6 separate regions of the Homo sapiens genome follow, and regions 2, 3, 4, 5 and 6 are each linked to region 1. The links are contacts of gene promoters, found by promoter capture Hi-C in blood cells and fetal thymus (Javierre and others, 2016). All regions are on one chromosome and are shown on one strand. The core of a region is centred on a gene start or on the middle of the fragment in contact, and the rest is flanking DNA. Distances in the headings are between cores, read along the strand shown.

The links. The method cuts DNA at HindIII sites, captures the fragments that hold promoters and counts their contacts. A CHiCAGO score of 5 or more calls a contact.
Region 2: a contact is called between a fragment that was not itself captured here and the fragment with the promoter of SGO1-AS1 in region 1, in 1 of 17 cell types (non-activated CD4 T cells). The highest score is 7.0, in non-activated CD4 T cells.
Region 3: a fragment that was not itself captured here is called in contact with the fragment with the promoter of SGO1-AS1 in region 1 in 6 of 17 cell types (neutrophils, total CD4 T cells, non-activated CD4 T cells and 3 more); the score reaches 10.5 in neutrophils.
Region 4: a fragment that was not itself captured here is called in contact with the fragment with the promoter of SGO1-AS1 in region 1 in 1 of 17 cell types (neutrophils); the score reaches 7.3 in neutrophils.
Region 5: a contact is called between the fragment with the promoter of PP2D1 here and the fragment with the promoter of SGO1-AS1 in region 1, in 9 of 17 cell types (neutrophils, total CD4 T cells, non-activated CD4 T cells and 6 more). The highest score is 12.0, in neutrophils.
Region 6: a fragment that was not itself captured here is called in contact with the fragment with the promoter of SGO1-AS1 in region 1 in 1 of 17 cell types (neutrophils); the score reaches 8.7 in neutrophils.

The regions. Positions count from the first base shown.
Region 1 is chr3:20,173,002-20,175,535 of GRCh38, reverse strand. SGO1-AS1 (SGO1 antisense RNA 1) reads right to left here and starts at 1,250. Exons shown (of 4, transcript NR_132785.1): 1 at 1,011-1,250; 2 at 718-801. SGO1 (shugoshin 1) reads left to right here. Exons shown (of 8, transcript NM_001199251.3): 6 at 481-1,287. The HindIII fragment of the contact is 5,926 bases long and covers 1-2,534 here.
Region 2 is chr3:19,939,369-19,943,475 of GRCh38, reverse strand. It overlaps a transcript of EFHB not described here and the pseudogene HSPA8P18. Among named protein-coding and RNA genes, the nearest start is that of RAB5A, 5.7 kb to the left of the region's middle. The HindIII fragment of the contact is 1,731 bases long and covers 612-2,342 here.
Region 3 is chr3:19,957,921-19,962,298 of GRCh38, reverse strand. All of the region lies in intron 2 of RAB5A (RAB5A, member RAS oncogene family), which reads right to left. Among named protein-coding and RNA genes, the nearest start is that of RAB5A, 13 kb to the right of the region's middle. RefSeq lists an enhancer at 1,313-1,482. The HindIII fragment of the contact is 5,997 bases long and covers 1-4,322 here.
Region 4 is chr3:19,992,427-19,996,353 of GRCh38, reverse strand. The region is part of intron 2 of PP2D1 (protein phosphatase 2C like domain containing 1); the gene reads left to right. Among named protein-coding and RNA genes, the nearest start is that of PP2D1, 18 kb to the left of the region's middle. The HindIII fragment of the contact is 6,106 bases long and covers 1-3,927 here.
Region 5 is chr3:20,010,768-20,015,220 of GRCh38, reverse strand. It overlaps PP2D1 (protein phosphatase 2C like domain containing 1), which reads left to right and starts at 2,957. Exons shown (of 3, transcript NM_001252657.2): 1 at 2,957-3,171. The coding sequence starts at 3,149. It also overlaps the pseudogene RPL39P18. The HindIII fragment of the contact is 22,515 bases long and covers 1-4,453 here.
Region 6 is chr3:19,923,450-19,927,410 of GRCh38, reverse strand. All of the region lies in intron 1 of EFHB (EF-hand domain family member B), which reads left to right. Among named protein-coding and RNA genes, the nearest start is that of EFHB, 8.8 kb to the left of the region's middle. The HindIII fragment of the contact is 4,788 bases long and covers 313-3,961 here.

The DNA.
Region 1 (2,534 bases), core at 1-2,500:
CGTAAGCCACCGTGCCTGGCCTATAATGTTTTTAAAGATTATAAAGATTGAATGTCCCTTATCCAAAATGCTTGGGACCAGAAGTGTTTTGGATTTATTTTTTAAATTTTGGAGTATTTACATTATATCAGTTCATCATCCCTAATTTGAAAATCTGAAATCCAAAACCCTCCAGTTAGCATTTCCTTGGAGCATCATGACTGCACTAAAAAAGTTTTGGATTTCAGATTTTCAGATTAGGGATACTGAACCTGTACAAGATTCTTTCACATGTCAGATATAAGCCATCAGTTGATCACTGACAAGTAAATAGATGGTAATATTTAAGTTCCCAGGTTTTTATTTACAGATTTTATAATGTAGGAAAACTACAGAATGACCTTTTGGTCATTCACTTTTTTAGTTTGAATTCTAAAGTTCTTGAAATTCAAATTTCCACAAAGTAAAACTACTTTTCTCATTTATTTTTTAAATTCTCAGATCAGATACCTACTATTCCTCAAGACACACTGGGAGTTGATTTTGATTCAGGTGAAGCTAAGTCTACTGATAATGTCTTACCTAGAACTGTATCTGTTCGTAGCAGTTTAAAGAAACATTGTAACAGTATATGTCAGTTTGATAGCTTGGATGATTTTGAAACCAGTCATTTGGCAGGGAAGTCTTTTGAATTCGAAAGAGTTGGATTTTTAGACCCACTAGTAAACATGCACATACCTGAAAATGTACAACACAATGCTTGTCAATGGAGCAAGGACCAAGTTAACTTATCACCAAAGCTGATTCAGCCAGGAACGTTTACTAAAACAAAAGAAGACATTTTAGAATCTAAATCTGAACAAACTAAAAGTAAGCAAAGAGATACACAAGAAAGAAAAAGAGAAGAGAAAAGAAAAGCTAACAGGAGAAAATCAAAACGTATGTCAAAATATAAAGAGAATAAAAGCGAAAATAAAAAAACTGTTCCCCAAAAAAAAATGCACAAATCTGTCAGTTCCAATGATGCTTACAATTTTAATTTGGAAGAGGGTGTTCATCTTACTCCTTTCCGACAAAAAGTGAGCAATGACTCTAATAGAGAAGAAAACAACGAGTCTGAAGTGAGCCTCTGTGAATCAAGTGGTTCAGGAGATGATTCCGATGACCTCTATTTGCCCACTTGCAAGTACATTCAGAATCCCACGAGCAATTCAGATAGACCAGTCACCAGGCCTCTAGCTAAAAGAGCACTGAAATACACAGATGAAAAAGAGACGGAGGGTTCTAAGCCAACAAAAACTCCTACCAGTAAGTGATCTACTTGTTTACCTGTATTTTTAATGTTCGTGATAAATGATCACTCCTGATGCTTATATACTATACTTACCATCTGTTTCTCTGGTGGAGGTTGGAGACTTACCATCTGTCTCTCTTTGGTGGAAGTTATGGTCTGATTAAACAGTGGGGGGCTGGGTGTGGAAATCACAGTTGTATTGCTCTGACCTAATTCAGAGATTGCTTGTTATGGAGACAGAATTTTTATTTTCAGTAAATTAGGACTCCCAAGGGGACAGAGGGACTTTTTTGTAGACTTAGGTTGAATTGAAGTAGCTTTTATACACTTAACTGAAGTATCCCCTTGAAAGTGAAATCAAATTTGAATCCAGTGACTTGTTATTTTAATGGCCTTGTTTTATATTAAATTTGACAGGAACCGTGATTTAAAATAATCTTCTAGTTAGTGAAGATTTCCTCAATTGATAGGCTTAGTATTCTTTTGTACGACATCTCTAAAAACTGGCTCAGAAAATATTTTATTAGATCAAAAGTAGGCATAGTTCAAATGTTCGTAATACAACCTACACCTGTCCACAAAGATTCTCATTTGGCAATTTTAGTTAATACAAGTAAAACTAACATTTATAGTCAAGTTGTATCATTTTCAAAATATTGTCACATCATTTTATTTGATCCTCAGAACAATTCTGTGAAGTATAGGTGTTATGATGCTTATTTTGTTTGTAAGGAGATTAAAACCTTAAAAACCAAACCAACTTTCTAAATCGGCCAGTTAGTCAGTGGTAGCAGGCAAGTATCTTTTTTAAAAATATGCTGTAAGCCGGGCGGGTTGGCTCACGCCTGTAATCCCAGCACTTTGGGAGGCTGAGGTGGGCGGATCACCTGAGGTCAGGAGTCCAAGACCAGCCTGGCCAACATGGTGAAACCCCATCTCTACTAAAAATACAAAAAAATGAGCCAGGCCTGGTGGTATGTGCCGGTAATCCCAGCTACTCGGGAGGCTGAGGCAGGAGAAAAAGAATTGCTTGTACCCAGGAAACAGAGGTTGCAGTGAGCCGAGACCATGCCATTGCGCTCCAGCCTAGGCAACAAGAGCGAAACTCAGTCTCAAAAAAAAAAAAAGCAAAAATGCTATAATGATGTTAGAATAAATCAAACATGATTGTCAAAGTGTTGATAATTATTGGACCTGGGTAACTCAGAGTTTATTATACTGTTATTGCCATCTTTGTGTACATTTAAAAATGTCCAGAAAA
Region 2 (4,107 bases), core at 228-2,727, 230 kb after region 1:
TGTTTGTAGAATGAATGAATGAATTGAATGAGCCCTTACCTGGATTTACATACTGCAAAGTCATTTGAAGAATTTATGGGGATTTATTGAATGCTGTGGCCACTTTTGGGGTTCCTATGTCTTTCTTCAGAATCCAATCCGGCCTACATGCAAACAACCCTGTTTAAAGGACCTGCAGTTGGTATTCATCTTGGCACCATCTACTCTTGTGTGGGTGTTTTCCAGCATGTAAAAATAGAGGTAATTGCCAATGATCAGGGAAATTGAATCACTCCAAGCTATGTCACCTTTACTGATACTGAACAATTGCTCAGTGATGCCACAAAGAATCAAGTTGCAATGAACCCCATGAACACAGTTTTTGATGCCAAATCTGATTGCTGATTGGACACAGACTTGATTATGCTGTTGTCCAGTCTGATATGAAGCATTGGCCCTTCATGGTAGTGAATAATGTTGGCAGGCCCAAGGTCCAAGTAGAATACAAGGGAGAGATAAAAAAAACTTCTGTCCAGAAAGGTGTCCTCTAGGGCCATGGACTGGTACTGGACTGTGGCCTGTTAGGAACTGGCTGCCCAGCAGGAGGTGAGTGGCAGCAAGTCAGTGAAGCTTCATCTGTATTTACAGCTGCTCCCCATCATTCACATTACCACCTGAGCTCCCCCTCCTGTCAGATCAGTGGCAGCATTAGATTCTCATAGGAGTGTGAACTCTATTGTGAATTGCACACACAAGGGATCTAGCACTTCTTATGACAATCTAATGCCTGATGATCTGTCACTCTCTTCCATCACCTCCAGATGGGACCGTCTAGTGGCAGGAAAACAAGTTCAGGGCTCCTACTGATTGTACATTATGGTGAGTTATATAATTATTTCATTATATATTACAATGTAATAATAATATAAAGTGCACAATAAATGTAATGTGCTTGAATTGTCCTAAAACTATCTTCCCCCGATCCTACCCCCTGCAACTTGGTCTGTGGAAAAATTGTCTTCCATGAAACTGGTCCCTGGTGCCAAAAAGGTTGGGGACAGCTGCTCTGTTATTCTGACAAAGATGAAGGAAATGGCAGAAGCCTACCTTGGAAAGAGTGTTACCAATGCTGTGGTCACAATATCAGCTTGGTTTAATGATTCTCAGCATCAAAGCTACCAAAGATGCTGGAACTATTGCTTATCTCAATGTACTGAGAATTATCAATGAGCTAACTGCTGCTTCTATTGCTTATGCCTTAGGCAAAAGGTTGGAGCTCAATGAAATGTGCTGATCTTTGACCTTAGAAGTGGTACTTTTAAATTTTTATTTATTTATTTTCTTGAGATGGATTCTCGCTCTGTCACCCAGGCTGGAGTGGTGCGATCTCGGCTCACTGCAATCTCTGCCTCCCAGGTTCAAGTGATTCTCCTGCCTCAGCCTCCTGAGTAGTTAGGATTACAGGTGCCCACCACCACGCCTGGGTAATTTTTTTTGTATTTTTAGTAGAGACGTGGTTTCACCATGTTGGCCAGGCTGGTCTCAAACACCTGACTTCAGGTGATCTGCCCCCCCTCAGCCTCCCAAAGTGCTGGGATTACAGGTGTGAGCCACTGTTCCTGGCCTTTTTTTTTTTTTTTTGATGGAGTCTCACTCTTGTTGCTCATGCTGGAGTGCAGTGGCGCAATCTTGGCTCACTGCAACCTCTGCCTCCCGGGTTCAAGCGATTCTTGTGCCTCAGCCTCCCGAGTAGCTGGGATTACAGGCATGCACCACCATGCCCAGCTAATTTTCGTATTTTTAGTAGAGACGGGGTTTTTCCATGTTGGCCAGGCTGGTCTTGAACTCTTGACCTCAGGTGATCCGCCTGCCTCAGCCTCCCAAAGTGCTAGGATTACAGGCGTGAGCCATTGCGCTTGACCTGGAAGTGGCACTTTTAATGTGTCAGTCCTCACTGTTGAGGATGGAATCTTTGAGGTGAAATCTACAGCAGGAGACACCCACTTAGGTGGAAAACACTGACAACCAAGTGGTCCACCATTTTATTGCTGAGTTCAAGTACAAGCATACAAAGGACATCAGTGAGAATAAGAGAGCTGTCTGACATCCCCATACTGCTTGTGAACATGCTAAGTACACTCTTTCTTGAGCAGCCAGGCTAGTATTGAGATCCATTTTCTCTATGAATGAATCAATGTCTATACCTCTTACACATGCCCTATTTGAAGAACTGAATGCTGACCTGTTCTGTGACACCTGGACCCTATAGAGAAAGCCCTTCAAGACACCAAACTAGACAAGTCACAGATTCATGATATTTTCCTGGATGGTGGTTCTACTTTTATCCCCAGGATTCAGAAGCTTCTCCAAGACTTTTTCAATGGAAAAGAACTGAATAAGAGCATCAGCCCTAATGAAGCTGTTGCTTATGGTGCAGCTGTCCAAGCAGCCATTCTGTCTGGCAACAAATCTGAAAATGCTCAAGATTTGTTGCTCTTGTATGTCATTCTTCCTTCCCATGGTATTGAAACCGATGGTGTAGTCATGACTGTTCTCATTAAGCATAATACTACCATTCCTTCCAAGCAGACAGACCTTCACTACCTACTCTGACAGGCAGCCTGATGTGCTTATTCAGGTTTATGAAGGTGAGCATGTCATGACCAAGGATAGCAACCTGCTTGGCAAGTTTCAACTCACAGGCATACCTTTGGCACTCCAAGGTGTTCCTCACATTGAAGTCACATTTGATATTGATGCCAATGGCATCTTCAGTGTCTCTGCTGTGCACAAGAGTACAGGAAAAAGAACAAGATTACTGTCACTAATGACAAGGGCCATTTTAGCAAGAAAGACATTAAATGTGTGGTCCAGGAGGCTGAATAGTACAAAGCTGAAGATGAGAAGCAGAGACAGGTGTCATCAAAGAATTCCCTTGAATCCTATGAATTCAACATGGAAGCAACTGTTGAAGATGAGAAACTTCAAGGCAAGATTCACGATGAAGACAAACAGAAGATTCTTGTCAGGCGTAATGAAATTATTAACTGGATAGATAAGAATCAGGCTGTTGAGAAGGAAGAATTTGAACATCAGCAGAAAGAGCTGGAGAGAGTCTGCAATCCCATCATTACAAAGCTCTAGCAGAGTGCAGGAGGAATGCCTAGGGGATTCACTGTTGGTGGATCTCCTCCCTCTGATGGTGCTTTCTCAGGGCCCAACACTGAATAAGCCAGCCCAAGTACAGATGTAGCATTGTTCCACACACTTAAAACACTGAAGGACCCAAATATGTAGCAAATTCTGTGGCAGTTTTTTTTCTTTTTTGATCAGTCAATGTAGTTTAATTTTTCCCAGTCAAAATTTGCCTAAAAAGGCCTGTAATCTCATAAAAAAAGAAGTACATAGAAAGTAAGCCTTTAAAGGAATTGGACAGATCATTCCAAACTGGGGCAGGAAATTGAGTAGTCTTCATGAGGAAGGTGGTGTTTGAGAGATGTCGGAAGATGGCTGAGTCAATAGGGGCAGTGGGCCTTAAACTCCTGTAGAGGAGATACAATCAAATCTATAACACTAAGTTGTTGGAGGGTGCCAGAGTGTCATCCATGCCAGTTCAATATCAATTGTTCGGTTTTACAGTGGTTTATCAAAGCCTTTTTTAGATCAGACCCTGTGCATTCTATTAGAAGGCTTGCTCTTCAAGGAGCATCTAGTTTAGTACACAGACATGGAAACCCACATAGATCATAGTAGGATAAATACTGTTACAAATAAGTTTGAGGTGCTATGGGAGCATGAAAGAGGGAGACCCATGGGCGGGTGCGGTGGTTCACGCCTGTAATCCCAGCACTCTGGGAGGTCGAGGCGGGCGGATCACGAGGTCAGGAGATAGAGACCATCCTGGCTAACACGGTGAAACCCCATCGCTACTAAAAATACAAAAAATTAGCCGGGTGTGGTGGCGGGCGCCTGTAGTCCCAGCTACTCTAGAGGCTGAGGCGGGAGAATGGCGTGAACCCGGGAGGCGGAGCTTGCAGTGAGCCAAGATCGCGCCACTGCACTCCAGCCTGGGCGCGACAGAGTGAGACTCCATCCCAAAAAAAAAAAAAAAAAAAAAAAAAAAAAAGG
Region 3 (4,378 bases), core at 75-2,574, 210 kb after region 1:
CACGCCCAGCCTGTAGATTGTATTTTCTAAGGCAGCTGCAACAAGACATTCTACACCACATTCTTCTTACAGTGTGATGTTGACACTCTTCCCTTGAATCTGTACAGGCCTGTGACTAGAATAGAACAGATGCTATCTATCTATGTGACTTCTGGAGCAAAGTCATAAAAGGCTACTACATGTAGGTGTGTTCTAGCTAACAGCCCCATCTGAGGTCCCAACCAATAGCCAGCACCAACTGCCGGATGTGTTGAGATGATTCTTGCCCCGTAATGAACTGCAAGAGCAAGGAAAAGATCAGAGTGAGAACCACCTACTAAGCCCACTCACCAGAACCATGGAGATGACAAAATAATTTTAAGTCTCTACATTTTGGAGGAGTCATTTGTGTCTCAGCAATAGATAACTAGAACAGCATTAAAGTGAAAAATAAAAAGTGTATTACAGTACATCTGACATATTTCAAATTTTGTAAAAAGGGAGACAAGAATATATAGATTTGAGTATAGTAGTAACTTTGCAAGGATATATAACAAAGTAACATCATCTTTGGGAAAAAGAACTGAGTGGGCTAGATAGAAGATGAGGGGGAGATTTTTCACTGTAAACCTTATAAACTTCTTGAATTTTGACTCACATGAACAAATTAATGCATTTGATTAAAGGCAGTTAAAATATAGCGTGTGACACATGATGATGGCATAAAAATGAAAATGGTGGTGATAATTTAGGAATATGGACAATTTAAATAATCGTCTTATATTCTTTTGTTCTCAAAATACTTTCACATTATTTTCCTTAAGTGATACATAGCAAGAAGGCCCCTACCTGTCAAATACTACATATTATTTAACAGAACACTTGTCATGTGTACTCTAACTATGAGCCAAATTTTCTAGTCTGATAGGTTCTTGCAAGGAGAAATACACACATACACAGTACATTCCAGAACATGAATGGCATTTCAGAAAGATGTCTTTAATCCCAGCTGTCACCTAGTTGCAAAACTTCAAGCATATACTTAACCTTTATTGCTTCAGTTTCCTTGTCTATAAAATTAGTACCTTCCCATATAGCCATGGTAAGGTACAGATGAAACTTCTGAAAATCCTGTTTAAGTTCTAGGAATGTATCACATAACAAGTAATTATTATAAGTGTCCTATCTTTAAATTATCCTTTATTTCCTAGAAGTCACATTTTTCTAAAATTTACAAATTACTTATGAATGCAATAGAGGAGAAAATTCTATTCATGTTATACCTCAAATAAAAACGATAGTAACTAGGTGGAATATATTCTGGCTCTAGTTTTATGCAAAGATAAAGAACAGTTTTTTGACTGAGAAAAGCTGAAGGTGTCTGATAATTATGCAGTGACTAGTCATGTATCAAGATTACCCACTTCTTCTTTGGGGCCCAAAGAATATCCAACAACTACTACTGCGAACACTTAAGGCTTAAAAAACCATGAATAACTAACCGGTTCTTCATCCTGCTTCTACCTTTCCTCAAACGGAGGATGAATGCTGTTTAGCAACACTTACTTCAGATATTCTGATTTGTAGAGCATTCTTATTTTCAAAGTCCAACATATGACTTCAGTAACACTTAACTTTCATCTTGAGGAATTTAGCAACTAGGTAACTAAAGTTTACATATACATCAAGGTAGCCAATGAATTAAAAGACAAAAAATGATGCCTGAAAAAGTGGCTTACGCCTGTATTCCCAGCACTTTGGGAGGCTAAGGCAGGTTGATTGCTTGAGCTCAGGAGTTCGCGACCAGCCTGGGAAACATGGAGAATAGCCATCTCTACCAAAAATACAAAATTAGCCGGGGGCAGGGGCACACATGCCTGTGGTCTCAGCTACTCAGGAGGCTGAGGTGGGAAGATGGCTGGAGCCCAGAAGTTGAGGCTGCAGTGAGCCATGATCATGCCACTGCACTCCAGTCTAGCACAGAGCGAGACCCCATCTCAAAAACAAAAACCTTTAGAAGTACTCTTATTGCTTTTCTTACTCTCACACATCTTTATTCTCCTTCACAAAGAGGTTTGCTGAAAAGGCTTTTGATGTAACTCCAAATGATACTATCCTATCATAAATTTACTCAGCATACTTCATAAACAAGATTATGTATATGCAATGTCAGGTTATTATGGTATATGACCTAAAAAAGGGAGAAACAGTTTGCCAAAATTTCCCATGTTTCTATCAAGTAAGAATTCTTATTCTATTCTAAAAGCAAAATTTTAAAACACTTCCCATCCCACAGCCTCCACCAATTATTATTCAAAACCAAGTGTCTTTCATGTGCCTCTGAGTGTGTCTCCAAAAAGATCAATTATCTGGAAACCTTATATATTCAGAACACAGCCTAGCGCGGTGGCTCATGGCTATATCTCAGCACTTTGGGAGGCCAAGCCAGGAGATCACTTGAGGTCAGGAGTTTTAAGACCTGCTTGGGCAACACAGCAAGACGTCGCCTCTACAAAAATTTCAAAATTAGCCAGGCATGGTGGTGCACACCTGTAGTCCCAGCTACTTGGGAGGCTGAGGTGAGACGACTGCTTGACCCAAGAGGCTGAGGCTGCAGAGAGCCATGATCACATCATTGCACTTCACCCTGGGCAACAGAGCAAGACCCTGCCTCAAAAAAAAAAAAAAAAAAAATCAGAACACAACCAGAAAGCTAGCAAAAGAAGAGTAAATGCAGCCAGAATAAATCTCACAAAGTCCATGCACTAAAGGTTATGCAAATTTACAGATTTCCTCGGAATGTAACTGAGACCACTTTCTATGTATATCTTCTTTTGGAGATTGATTTATATATACATACATATATATATATATAAATTAGTACATAACAAGAAGATCAGTTGGAGATTTAGGCTTAATTTTTAAAAAGTGGCATATAATATCACTTTTAAAAACCTTTAATATATAGCACCAGATTACAATGTTCACTCAATCTGTCTCTCAAACTATACCAAGAAGTTGTCCCTGATTTCTAGTTTTAGAATCATCAGAGATGATTTCTGGTTTTATTTTGATTTGCTTTAGACAACCTAATATTTCCCATATATAACAAATAAAAGCAGTAAATTAGTGAATCAGTAGCAGTTCACTAAGAGCTATTTGGCAAAATCATTCTACCAAACAGCTTGAATACTTCCAAAGCACCAGAGGACATCAACACATTAAGCACGGCAAGGCAAAAACTGATGCTCATAATGATTCCAAATCTTGAAATACATTTTAAGAAAACAAAAGTTAAATTGTATTGACTGTATTGTTTAATGAGAAGAGTACACAGTTTATAAGAACATCTGCTCTACAAGAATCCTTTTTTCTTTTTTTGAGACAGAGTCTCGCTCTGTCACCCAGGTTGAAGTGCAGTGGTGCGATCTCAGCTCACTGCAACCTCCGCCTCCCAGGTTGAAGCAATTCTCATGTCTCAGTCTCCCCTACCTCAGCGCCCTGTCACCCAGGTTGAAGTGCAGTGGTGTGATCTCAGCTCACTGCAACCTCTGCCTCCCAGGTTGAAGCAATTCTAATGCCTCAATAGCTGGGATTACAGGCACATGACACCACGCCCCACTAGTTTTTGTATTTTTAGTAGAGACAGTGTTTTGCCATGTTGGTCAGGCTGGTTTCGAACTCCTGACCTCAGGTGATATGCCTGCCTCGGCCTTCCAAAGTGTTGGGATTACAGGCGTGAGCCACCACACCTGGCCTACAAGAATCCTTACCTAGAGTTCAATACTCTCGTGTTACAAATGTGTAAACAGAGTTCACATAAATGCTTATGAAAGCATGTGAGGATTAGAACCATGCATACTGACTCCCAGCTCACGGGAATGTTTAAGTAGCCACATATGATAATATTTTAACCTAAGAAATTGGGGAATAATTAAGACTACCGAAAGATTTTTTTAGGTTGTGATATAAATTTGAAATATCAAATCTCTACCAACTTCTCTGGGTAACAACCTCTCAAATTCTGAATATGTACTTTTTAGGAGAAAATATGATGAACAAAGATATTATTATTTTGCTTGAAACCAAATGATTAACTTCCACAAATTTTAACTATCAATGTATCAGAAAGTAGAATGAATACTTCAAACACACAATTTTTCTCACGAATCAAAAACCACATGCTGGTGGTTTGGTCTCTAGGTCTTCTATCCTTTCTCAAAAGCACTTTTAACAATGTGCACATGCAAAAAGGTAAAAGCACATTAAATAAATGCACAGATTATAATTATACAAAGAAGTCATTCTGAAGGCTAACAAGTGAAGGGCAATTGTAGAAAGCTTTCTACTACTGGAAAAACATGAGTTATTTGGATTTAAATTTTCTGGCTAGCTTTTC
Region 4 (3,927 bases), core at 1,355-3,854, 180 kb after region 1:
ACGTGTTTATCCATTTCCTCTAGGTTTTCTAATTTGTTAGGGTATAGTTGTTCAAATAGTCTCTAATGATCTTTTGTTTTTTAGTGGCATCTGTTGTAATGTCTCCTTTTTCATTTCTGATTTTTTTGGGATTTTCTCTCTTTTTTCTTGTTTAGGCTAGCTAATGGTTTATTGACTTTTAAAATCTTTTCATAAAAACAACCTTTTGTTTTATTGCTCCTATGTGTATTTTTTAGTGTCTACCTTGGTTAATTCTGCTCTGATCTTTATTTTTTTTGCTTCTATTAATTTTGAGTTTAGTTTGTCCTGGATTTCCTAGTTTCTTGCAGTGCATTGTTACGTTGTTTATTTGGAGTTTATTACTATAAATTTCCCTATTAGTATCACTTTTGCTGCATCCCATAGGTTTTGGTATGTTATATTTTGATTTTCATTTGTTTCAAGAAGTTTTTGATTTCCTTTATAATTTCTTCACTGACCCTATGATTGTTGAGGAGCATGTTGTTTAATTTCCATGTATTTGTACAATTTCCAATGTTCCTCTTGCTATTGATTACTAGTTCTATTCCATTGTGGTATGAAAAGATACTACTTTTAAAAAATCATATATGTCTCTAACTTTTGAACAAATGGCATACAGTTATAATAACTTATATCCATGCCTGCTAATTGCAACATCTGTGCCATTTTGGAGTTGGTTTCAATTGATTGACTTTTCACTTATCGTGGGTGTTATTTTCCTTCTTATTGGCATGCCTGGTGTACTAGTTTCCTAAGGCTGCTGTAACAAGTTACCACGAACTTGGTGGCTTAAAACAGCAAACATTTATTCTCTCATGCTTCAGGAGGCCAGATGCCTGAAGTCAAGGTGTTCACAGGGCCATGCCTCTTCTAGGGTAGAAATCCTTCCTTGGGTCTTCCAGCTTATGGTGGCTCCAGGCATTCCCTCACCCACAGCTGTATAATTCCAGTCTCTGCCTTGACTTTCACATGGCATTTTACTGTTCCACCCATGTGTCTCTACTCTGTGTATCTCTTACAAAGACATTTCTCATTGGAATTTGGGCCCGCCTGGATAATCCAGAATGGTATCATTTTGAAATCCTTAACTACAACCGCAAAAACTTTTTTTTTTGCCAATAAGAACACATTGACAGGTTGTGGGTGTTAGGAGTAAATTTGTGTTTTTGGATATATGGTTTTCAGCTTTGTTTTGGGATGAAATTACTTGGAAATAGTTTGATCCTTTTAGATCCTGTTTTTGTAATTTATTAGGCAAGTCCAGGGCAGTGTTGAGTTTGGTCCAATTATTCTCTACTACTGAGGCAAAACATTCCTAAGCATGCTACCTAATGATTCACGAATTAATATCTTTTCAGTCTGGCTGGTTGGAACAGGAATTATTCTCCAGCCCTATGAGTCCTCAGCAATGCTCCCTCTAATCCTTTTCAAATGTTTCTTTTCCCAGTGTTGTGGAGTTTCCTCACACACATGTATTCACCAGTACCCATCTAAACACTTGAGAAAGACTCACTTGAGAAAGACCCTCGAAAGATATCTGGAATACTCTGTGCCTCTCTTTTCTCTCTGGTATTCTGTCCTCAGCAAGCTCTAGCTGCATTGGTTTCCCTGGACTCTTGGCTCTGTCTCTTCAAAACAGATGAAAGTGTAAATCCAGTCACTGTTATTGTATCTTGACCAGAAAGATAAGAAATTCCATATAATATATGTTTAGGGGAATTATTTGAGAGATGTGTCATCCAGAGTACTGCATTTGCTCCTGCCTGGTGTCTGCCTGTTGACACTATCAATATGTACTAAGTGATCCATTTGAGGCTTTCAGACTACAAATACATGAAGGTTGGTGGTTTCACATTCTTTGTTTTGCAGAGATGGGGTGTTGTTATATTGCCCAGGCTGGTCTCGAACTCTTGGACTCAAGTGATCCTCCCATTTGGCCTCCCAAAGTGCTCTGATGCTTTGATGAGCTTTAATCTTCTAATGTATTAAACATGTGATTATCCTTTCCTCACAGGATTACAGATGTGAGCTACAATGTCAAGCCAGTTCCAAGTTCTTTGTAGCTTCCTTTCTTCCCTCTTTCTCTCTTTGGCCTAATTTGAAATAGTCATTTTTTCTGTAGTCTGTGTGGTGGCAACAGGCATAGGTTTATTTTTGGTTCACTGTTTCAGTGAGGCCATCATCCTCTGGGGTCCTAGCTTTGTTGTGGTGAGCCATTTAGTCTTCCCCATCTTGGACAATCCCTAGGTTTTGTCTCCTGTTTCATAAACCTGTGATTTTTTTTTTTTTAAGACAGAATTGGGCCTGGTGCAGTGGCTCACTCCTGTAATCCCAGAACTTTGGGAGGCCGAGGTGGGTGGATCACAAGGTCAGGAGTTCAAGACCAGCCTGGCCAACATGGTGAAACCCAATCTCTACTAAAAAATACAAAAATTAGCCGGGGGTGGGCACCTGTAATCCCAGCTACTTGGGAGGCTGAGGCAGAGAATTGCTTGAACCTGGGAGGTAGAGGTTGCAGTGAGCTGAGATCGCACTACTGCACTCCAGCCTGGGCGACAGAGCGAGACTCCGTCTCAAAACAAACAAACAAACAAACAAACAGTCTTGCTCTGTTATCCACACTGGAGTAGAGTGGCTCGATCTTGGCTCACTGCAACCTCCACCTCCCGGATTCAGGGTCCAAGCGATTCTCCTGCCTCAGCCTCCCAAGGAGCTAAGATTACTGGCATGTGCCACCATGCCCAGCTAATTTTGTTTTATGTAAAGACGGGGTTTCACCATGTTGGCCAGGCTGGTCTCAAACTCCTGACCTTAAGTGATCCACCTGCTTTGGCCTCCCAAAGTGCTGGGATTATAGGTATGAGCCACTGCACCTGGCCACCTTGTGAAAATTTAACGTGGATTCGGCTCAATACATGGTCTCAGGTAAAAGCTGGTTTCTGCTCTTGGTATACCTGAATTTAGTCATTATTCGTCTTGAGTATTTTGCACTTTCTGCTATATTATCCAGGATATTTACTTGTTCTCAGTGGAAGGGTCAATCTAAGATCCAGACTGCCCCATTACTGCTCCTTTTTGAGTGCTTTAGTGTATCTGTTATTCCAATATCTTTATGTCTAGATTGTACATTTGTTAATAATTCTTTTTAATGAGGCCCTGTAAACTACTTTTATTTCTAGTGTCCTAGCTTTCTGTCTCATAAGCTCACAGTAGATTCAGAGACCAGGCACAACTTTACCCACCATTTCACAACTTTACCCACTATTTCTCTATTACTCTTTTTCTTTTTCTTTTGAGATGAGGTTTTGCTATGTAGCCAGGAGTGCAGTGGTTATTCTTAGGCTCACTCAGAGGATACTGCAGCCTGGAACCCCTAGCCTCAAGCGGTCCTCCTGCCTCAGCCTCCCAAGTAGCTAGGCCTTCAGCCTGCGCCACCACAGCTGGCTATCACAATTTTTAAATTGGTGGCCACCTGAAGCCCCCTTCCCTTCTCAAGATTGCCACGTCACTCCTTTCATCTAATCTTCAAAATCTGTGAGGAAAGGATAATCACATTTTTAATATATCAGAAGACTAAAGCTCATCAAAGCATTATACAAGGTTATATAACCAGTGAGTGAGCCAGGACTCCAGTCTTTCAGGCTTGAAGTCTGGTTACTTCAAATGAACAGTACTAGCTTTCTCCTGTTTTTAGGATATCTTCATTTTTATGTGGACCTTTCTGTCTTCATTCATCACTAATGCGGTATTTGCAGACCTAAGTTGTCTTTCTTCTCTAGATGTGATTGTTTCCATGGGTGTGAAAATGTGTTCATTTGGACTAGTTTAATAAGTTGCTTTTAAAATTATCCCCATCCCTACCGTTTTCCCCTAAAGTCTAATTCAACTCCAGAATCTCCTTCAATT
Region 5 (4,453 bases), core at 1,708-4,207, 160 kb after region 1:
ATCTGCCTGCCTCAGCCTCCCAAGTTGCTAGGATTACAGGCATAAGCCACTGTGCCTGGCCAACTGCTAGATATTAATATGCAGTGCCTGTATGCTCAGTGTGATTTAAAAAGCAATAAATAAGGCAAAATTCAGGTTATAATAATCTAATACCAAACTGGCAAAGATTTATCTAATGACTCTACATAATATTGGCATGGGCTGAGGGAGCAGTGCCAACAGATGGGGCTGGAGAAATTAGCAGACGCCAACAGAGACAGAGCTTTGTCAGGCACATTAAGGAGGTTATCCCAAGGACAAGGACAAGCCAGTAACGGGCCTCAGTCAGGGCATCACCTCCTCTGACTGCTCTAAGGGGAATGCACTGAGAGGCAACCAGACTGGAAGTGAGTTGAGCAGTTAGGAGTTTGTGCAGTAATCTGGGCAAGATATTTTCGCCTCCTGGAACCATGAGATAGCACTGGGGATGGAGACAAGTGGGTGGGTAGAGGGATATTGAAGAGAGAGATGTGGCTGGGTGTGGCAGCTCACGCCTGTAATCCCAGGACTTTGGGAGGCCGAGGAGGGTGGATCACCTGAGGTCAGGAGTTCGAGACCAGCCTGGCCAACAAGGTGAAACCCTGTCTCTACTAAAAATACAAAATCAGCCTGGTGTGGTGGCAAGCGCCTGTATTCCCAGCTACTCGTAAGGCTGAGGCAGGAGAACTGCTTGAACCCAGGAGCCAGAAGTTGCAGTGAGCCGAGATTGTGCCACTGCACTCCAGCCTGGCGACAGAGTGAGAATACATCTCAAAAAAAAAGACAGAGAGAGAGAGAGATCTGACAGGTCTTGGTGATCAATTTCATATATCCTGAAAAGGAGGATGGGGTGATGTTGGTCTCTGTATTAGCTAGGGTTCAGTCAGTAAAGCAGAACCCTAGGCATTGTGGAATAAAGGATTTATTGTTAAAATTAGTTTGTGGGAGAAGCTGGTCAACTAAACATCTGGGAAGAGGAGATGGGGCATCAGGGAAGTCCCCAGCCAGTCAGTCTGAGAAGCCAGGGACATCCAGATGCCCAAGCTGGACCATGAAGGAGAAGCTGATGGGGAAGGCTAGAGGAAATGTTTGCTTCTGTGGGCCCAAAGACGGGTGCCAGCTAATAGGCCTGGGGCTGCTATTGGTCAGCAAGACCTGGAGCTGGAGGAAAAGCTGGAGGCAGAGTAGTGGGGAACAAAGGACAAGCAGAAACCTGCTAGGCACTTCAGCATCTGTGGGTGAACTCATTGGATGATGATAGCATTCCAATATAAACCCCTAAGTTTTAAATATTAAGATTCCCTTCTTGGCCAAATTTAACCTGGAACCACACAGGAAAAGGGATTCTCTGAGACGTTCCAGTTAAACTAAGTTGATGATCAAAGAAGATTCTGGAGGGAAGGTTAGTGAGTTCCATTTTGAACATGTTGACTTTGATACCTCTTCAGGGAGACACCTAGTTGACAGTTGGGCTTGTCCAAACTTCTTCAGCATTCAGGCAACCTGCTCTAGGACTCTTGTTCTAACTCAGCCTTGGGGTAAGGGAGTGGCATGCAGCTGTGGATTAAACATTTGGGAACTAAAGATATTAGTCAGGAGTGAAGGCAGGGGAAAGAGTGAAGGCAGTCCAGTCAAGATCTACAACTCTCAGGCAGTTAATTGAGACAGCAAGATGGGGTGGGCAGGCTCTACAGAGCAGATAGAGGAGGTGTCCTCGAGAGATGGCCTGAGGTGCTGTAACACTGGGTGGGAAGACATCCCATCTGTACAGTAAGGATAGTCTCCTAAAATGGCTATTTGAAAGTGCCACAAGTTATAAAAATAATTGACAGTCACTCCTTTTACATTTTCATTTCTACTACATAGGCATAAGACAGTTTATTTATTTATTTTAAAGACAGGGTCTCGCTCTGTCACCCAGGCTGGAGTGGAATGGCACAATCATAGTTGACTGCAGCTGACTGCCTCAAACTCCTGGGCTCATGTAACTCTCCTGCCTCCGTCTCCTGAGTAGCTAGGACTACAGGTGTGTGCCACAATGCTCAGCTAATTTTTCTTTCCTTTCTTCTTTTTTTTTTTTTGTTGAAGCGATGGGGTCTCGATATGCGCTGCCCAGGCTGGTCTTGAACTCCAGGCCTCAAGCAATCCTCCTGTCTTGGCCTCCCAAAGTGCTGGGATTACAGACATGAGCCCCTGCATCCAGCAGTAAGATAGTATATATATATATATATATATATATATATATACTGTATATATATACACATATATATGTATATATGTGTATATATATATACTGTCTATATATATACACTATATATATACTGTCTATGTATATATACTGTCTATATATATACATATATGTGTGTGTGTGTGTATATATATATATATATGCAGAGAGAGAAAAACGAAAGACCTCACATATTTATTACTGAACCCAGCCAACCAGTGCCTTCATAGCACACACAGAAAGAAAAAATATAGTCCCAGTGAAACATGTCCAATTGTCCAGATAGTGGTAACATTTTCAGCTTGATATGGTAAGGTGGTCGTGACCTTCACACAACATAAATATGTGCGCCATCTCATGTGGAATTCCTTATAGACTCAGCTTGGTTCTTCTCCAATGTCTCCTTTTGAAGTTCTACTGATTTTATTACCAGTTTTCATCCAAATCCACTGGGGAATGGGACAATTTTGCTTTTGTTTCTTGGCCAGGAAACGCTTAATCCTGAAGGTTTTGTGAGAAGACATGGCGAGAAGCAGAGTCAAGCACACACCATGATGGCGGAGAAAGGAAGAGTAAGACAGTATATTTAACAAATGCTCCTTCTTTCAGAAATTCCAAAGTTTACTTCATACAACTTGTGATGTTATTGCTTCACAGTCCTTCTGAATCATAAAGTGAGTTCTGACTGAGGTTCCAGGTGATGTAGTGAACATTCCACACAGGGAGCTCTACCATCAAGTGAGGGGAATGCCCACCATCGCTATCATCACCATCACCACTACTTCTGCCACAGCCATCACATTCACCTCTACCTCCACCATCACCATCACTACTCAAGTTGGAGAAATAGAGGCCAGGGGAAGGGGATAAAGGGAGGGCAAAGAAAGGTAATTCCAAAGGAACATGAGCACCAATAATGCTTTAAGGTAAACTTTCTTAAATCTTTTTTGGATAATACGTATAGCCAATGAGTAATTATATCTACAGTATTTTTTTCTTCCACTTTCTTAATTATCAGATGAAACCTTGGCTTCCTGTTAAACTGTGTACATTGAAGAGTGATATATCCCTCTGCCTTATACAAAAGAGGAATTCCATTCCTCTCTATGCTCTTATTCTGATGTCTTTATAGTTAATTAATTAATTAATTAACTTATTTTATTTATTTATTTATTTTGAGACAGAGTCTCGTTCTGTTGCCCAGGCTGGAGTGCAATGGCGCGATCTCGGCTCACTGCAAACTCCGCTTCCCGGGTTCAAGTGATTCTCGCACCTCAGCCTCCCGAGTAGCTGGGACTGCAGGCGGCTGCCACCATGCCCGGCTAATTTTTGTATTTTTAGTAGAGACAGGGTTTCACTATGTTGGCCAGGCTGGTCTCGAATTCCTGACCTCAAGTGATAGGCCCGCCTCAGCCTCCCAAAGTGCTGAGATTATAGGCATGAGCCACTGTGCCCGGCCTATTTAATTTGTTATTATGAATGAATGAACATATGAATGATGCAATACATTCTAAGAATGGCCCACGTGTGATAGAGCTGTATTATGGCTGTCCCCGGCGTATGGAAAAATGAAGTTCTGATACAAGTAATTGACTTCAGATCAAAACACACTGTTGCGGTGCTTTATATATTGTCCCAATAGTCCATCAAGGCTCATAAAACTACATCCTTTACATGAATATTACCAAAAAATAGCAATTAAAATATTTTTATATATTTTGGCCAAAAGCTCTCAAAGGCCTTGACAGACCCAGTTTCTTCCCCTACTTCTCTGCTTACCTGTCCATTTCTTTTGCTGGGTCCTCTTGCTCCTTCTGCCGGCTAACTGATCATTCTCTTGGATATTGCCTTGGACCCCTTGCTAATATGTCTCAGCTGTGAGTTTTCCTAGGTCATTTTCTTAGGTCTCATCACACCATTCCTAGCCAGATGAAGGGCTAGGTTCCCGGTTGGGCACAATAATGGGACTTTGTCCTTGGCTCCACCTGACCTGTTTCATTCTGTTATTAATGACCTGGATGAGCATATGGACAGCACTGCAAACTTTTTCCCTCATAGCTTCAAGGGCAGGGTGCATCCTCATCCATCTGTGCATCTCAGCACCTTGCACGGTAGCTGGCCTATTGTAGGTATTTTTTATTTTTATATATTTATTTATTTATTCATTTATTCTGAGATGGAGTTTCGCTCTTGTTGCCCAGGCTGGAG
Region 6 (3,961 bases), core at 1,457-3,956, 250 kb after region 1:
GAAATACTGGCCTAAGGAGAGATTTCTGGTGTGTTCTTAAACAATCAAAAAGATTCTTGTGAAAGGAGGTCCTCTGTGTGGAGGCCTGGTAGCCCTTGAAAGGGCACTTGACTTTTGAAAAACACTGTCAGAGATCAAAATCTCTACAATGGTTATTTTCTAAGCTATCCCGAGACTGTCCCTTGATTTCCATCAATGCACTGACTAAGGCAGAAACCTGGAGTTATTAAGACAAAACATCTGAAGCATACAAAGTGCATTGGTAAATGATATTGAGCCCTGGAATAGAAAGACGAAGAAGGAAGGAAAGCTTCAAGGGGAAGTTTACAAAAATTATAGTGTCCATGATAACATAGGGCTATGGGAGGTTGAGGCTGCAATGAACTCTGATGGTATCACTTCACTCCAGCCTGGTTGACAGAGTGAGATCCTATTTAAAAAACAAAAACAAGTCCGGGCGGGGTGGCTCATGCCTGTAATCCCAGCACTTTGGGAGGCCGAGGCGGGTGGATCACCTGAGGTTGGGAGTTCGAGACCAGCCTGACCAACATAGAGAAACCCCGTCTCTACTAAAAATACAAAATTAGCCGGGTGTGGTGACAGGCGCCTGTAATCCCAGCTACTCAGGAGGCTGAGGTGGGTGAATCACTTGAGCCCGGGAGGCGGAGGTTGCTGTGAGCTGAGATCATGCCATTGCACTCCAGCCTGGGCAAAAGAGTGAAACTGTCTCAAAAATAAAAATAAAAAAGCAGGCTGGGCGTGGTGGCTCAAGCCTGTAATCCCAGCACTTTGGGAGGCCGAGACGGGATCACGAAGTCAGGAGATCGAGACCATCCCGGCTAACACAGTGAAGCCCCGTCTCTACTAAAAATACAAAAAATTAGCCAGGTGTGGTGGCAGGCGCCTGTAGTCCCAGCTACTCGGGAGGCTGAGGCAGGAGAATGGCGTGAACCTGGGAGGTGGAGCTTGCAGTGAGCCGAGATTGCGCCACTGCACTCCAGCCTCGGCGACAGAGCGAGACTCCGTCTCAAAATAAATAAATAAATTTTAAAAACCCCAAAAAACAAAAAAAACCCCAAAAAAACCAAAAAACCCATACACAAATAAACGCTGGGGCCACATAGATGAAAAATTACATACTACCTGCATTCAAGGAACTTAGAGACTGGAGACCAATAGACAAATGACTTTATGATATGACAAATGTCATGCAAAGGGGTGCCTTGCTTTTTCCTGTTCTATACTAGTAGAACCTGACAGCTATTTTGGGAATAGGTGGAGGGAAAGGTGCCACCTGTTAATAAATCTTGTGGGACCTTCCTAGTTATGCAGGCCCTGGTATTGGAGAAAATACCAGGTAAAAAGATTTATTTTGTATGAATTTCCAAAGCTAATCTCTGCAGAATTCTGGGAATTGGATGTTTTTATTTGCATAATGGATTCAGTGTCTTCTGGGCAGAAAGGGAATGGGTACCATCACTCCTAATGCTCTCTGAGATGTTTAGAATTGGGGATCTCTCTGAGTAAAACAGAGGGATCTTGACCAAGGGCAAGTGGGAGAGCTGTAACCATTAAGCTAACCCACATTGAGTTTGAAGAGTGGAAGGTGGTGTGATGATTATGGGTCTGTGGGTCTTGAGCAGCTGAAAATGGTCTTATATCAACCTTCCTGAGTTGACTTGAATCTTGGGACTCACTTGTATGATAAATGAAAGAGGTACTTGGCCATTAAAGCCTGTAACACTGGGGGTTGAGTGAGGAGGTGGCCAAGCAAGGTGTCTCCGGTGTTGTTAGGGACCGAGCAAAGAGGCAGCTGAGCAAGGAGATGGTTGGTGCAGTTTGGAGTTGGGTTACAGACAGAAAGCCTAAGCAGATAAGTAAATATATTTAGGACAATAATGCCAGGGTTATTTAGGACAATAACCCTTTTCTCACTGACAGAGAAAAGTGTTATAAATATGGAAAGGAGAATAGAATGAATCCTGTTGTGTTGGATTGTGATTAGAGGTATTCATATACATTTATGATATATCTATATATCTATGACCATGGATTCTAACTACACACATTTAACTAGACAGAATATTATAGGATCAATATACATGCAAGTGTGCGGGGGTGTTTGTCTATTCATACATTTCCTAACTCTATTTTTTTTTTTTTTTTTTTGAGAAGGAGTCTAGCTCTGTCGCCCAGGCTGGAGTGCAGTGGCCGGATCTCGGCTCACTGCAAGCTCCGTCTCCCTGGTTCACGCCATTCTCCTGCCTCAGCCTCCCGGGTAGCTGGGATTACAGGTGCCGGCCAGCATGCCCGGCTAATTTTTTGTATTTTTAGTAGAGATGTTTCACCGTTTAAGCCAGGATGGTCTTGATCTCCTGACCTCGTGATCCGCCCACCTCGGCTTCCCAAAGTGCTGGGATTACAGGTGTGAGCCACTGCGCCCGGCCATCCTAACTCTATTTAAGAGAGCTTAGAAGCGGTATTTCTCTAGTAGCAAAGAGCACACCAAAATCCAGATCTTTATTTCTTTTTTTTTATTATTATACTTTAAGTTTTAGGGTATATGTTCACAATGTGCAGGTTAGTTACATATGTATACATGTGCCATGTACTATTCTCTTTGAAAAGAAATTAAGCTCCTTGGAGAAATGGCTGACTCTAGGACTTGCACAGGCAAGTACAATATGAACATGGAACATCCTCATGAGCAAAAAAATGAGAAGAATCCTAAAGAATCATGCAGATATAAAACAAACTTGAAGAAACAAGGTTGATGAGTCTTCCCCTAGACCAAACTGGTGTACATTGAGTATTGAATAAAATTACCATTGAATAAAATAGAAATCCACGAGTACATAGGGATGTAAATACATAAATGTGTGAATAAATAGTGAGAAAAGGCCTGGCGCAGTGGCTCATGCCTGTAATCCCAGCACTTTGGGAGGCTGAGGAGGGAGGATCACGAGGTCAGGAGTTTGAGACCAGCCTGGCCGACATAGGGAAACCCCGTCTCTACTGAAAATACAAAAATTAGCCGGGCGTGGTGGCATGTGCCTGTATTCCCAGCTACTCGGGAGGCTGAGGCAGGAGAATCACTTGAACCTGGGAGGCGGAGGTTATAGTGAGTCAAGATCACACAACTGCACTCCAGCCTGGGCAACAGAGGACGACTCTGTCTCAAAAAAAAAAAAAAAGAGAGAGAGAGAGAAAAGAAAACTTCCTTGCAGTATAATGCAATTAATAAATATAGAAAGAATGCTAAAATTAGAAAGTCCTCATTTGGCAACCATCATAGGAATAATGATTTAGGAAAGAATCATCACTAGTTATTATTATTTTTTTAAAGAGATAAGGGTCTCACTTTGTTGCCCAGGCTGGTCTTGAACCCTGGGCTCCAGCAGTCCTCCTGCCTCAGCCTCCCAAAGTGCTGGGATGATAGGCATGGGCCACCATGCCCAGCTCATCAGTACATATTAAAACAATAGGTGAAAAGTAGAAATTTTATTTAGATTATCATATTTAAATTCTAAAGAGTTATTTCTTCTCAGGTTGTCTTTTAGAATTTCTAATATAGTTTTATAAATGCAATAAATGCAACATCTTATATCTCTCAGGTAATCTCTTTTGTTTATTTACATTTTCCTATTCCCTCTATGTTTGTGTATGTTTTTTATTAGCTTGTTTTGCCCCTCCCTTTCAAACTGGAGTCTAATAATTCATATTAAAACATTAGGCAGGCTGGGCGTGGTGGCTCATGCCTGTAATCCCACCCCTTTGGGAGGCCAAGGCAGGCAGATCACTTGAGCTCAGAAGTTCAAGACCAGCCTGTGCAACATGTCAAAAACTCGTCTCTACAAAAAAAATACAAAAATTAGCTAGGCATGGTGGCCCACACTTGTAGTCCCAGTCACTAGGGAGGCTGAGGTGGGAGGATGGTAGAGGTTGCAGTGAGCTGAGGTTG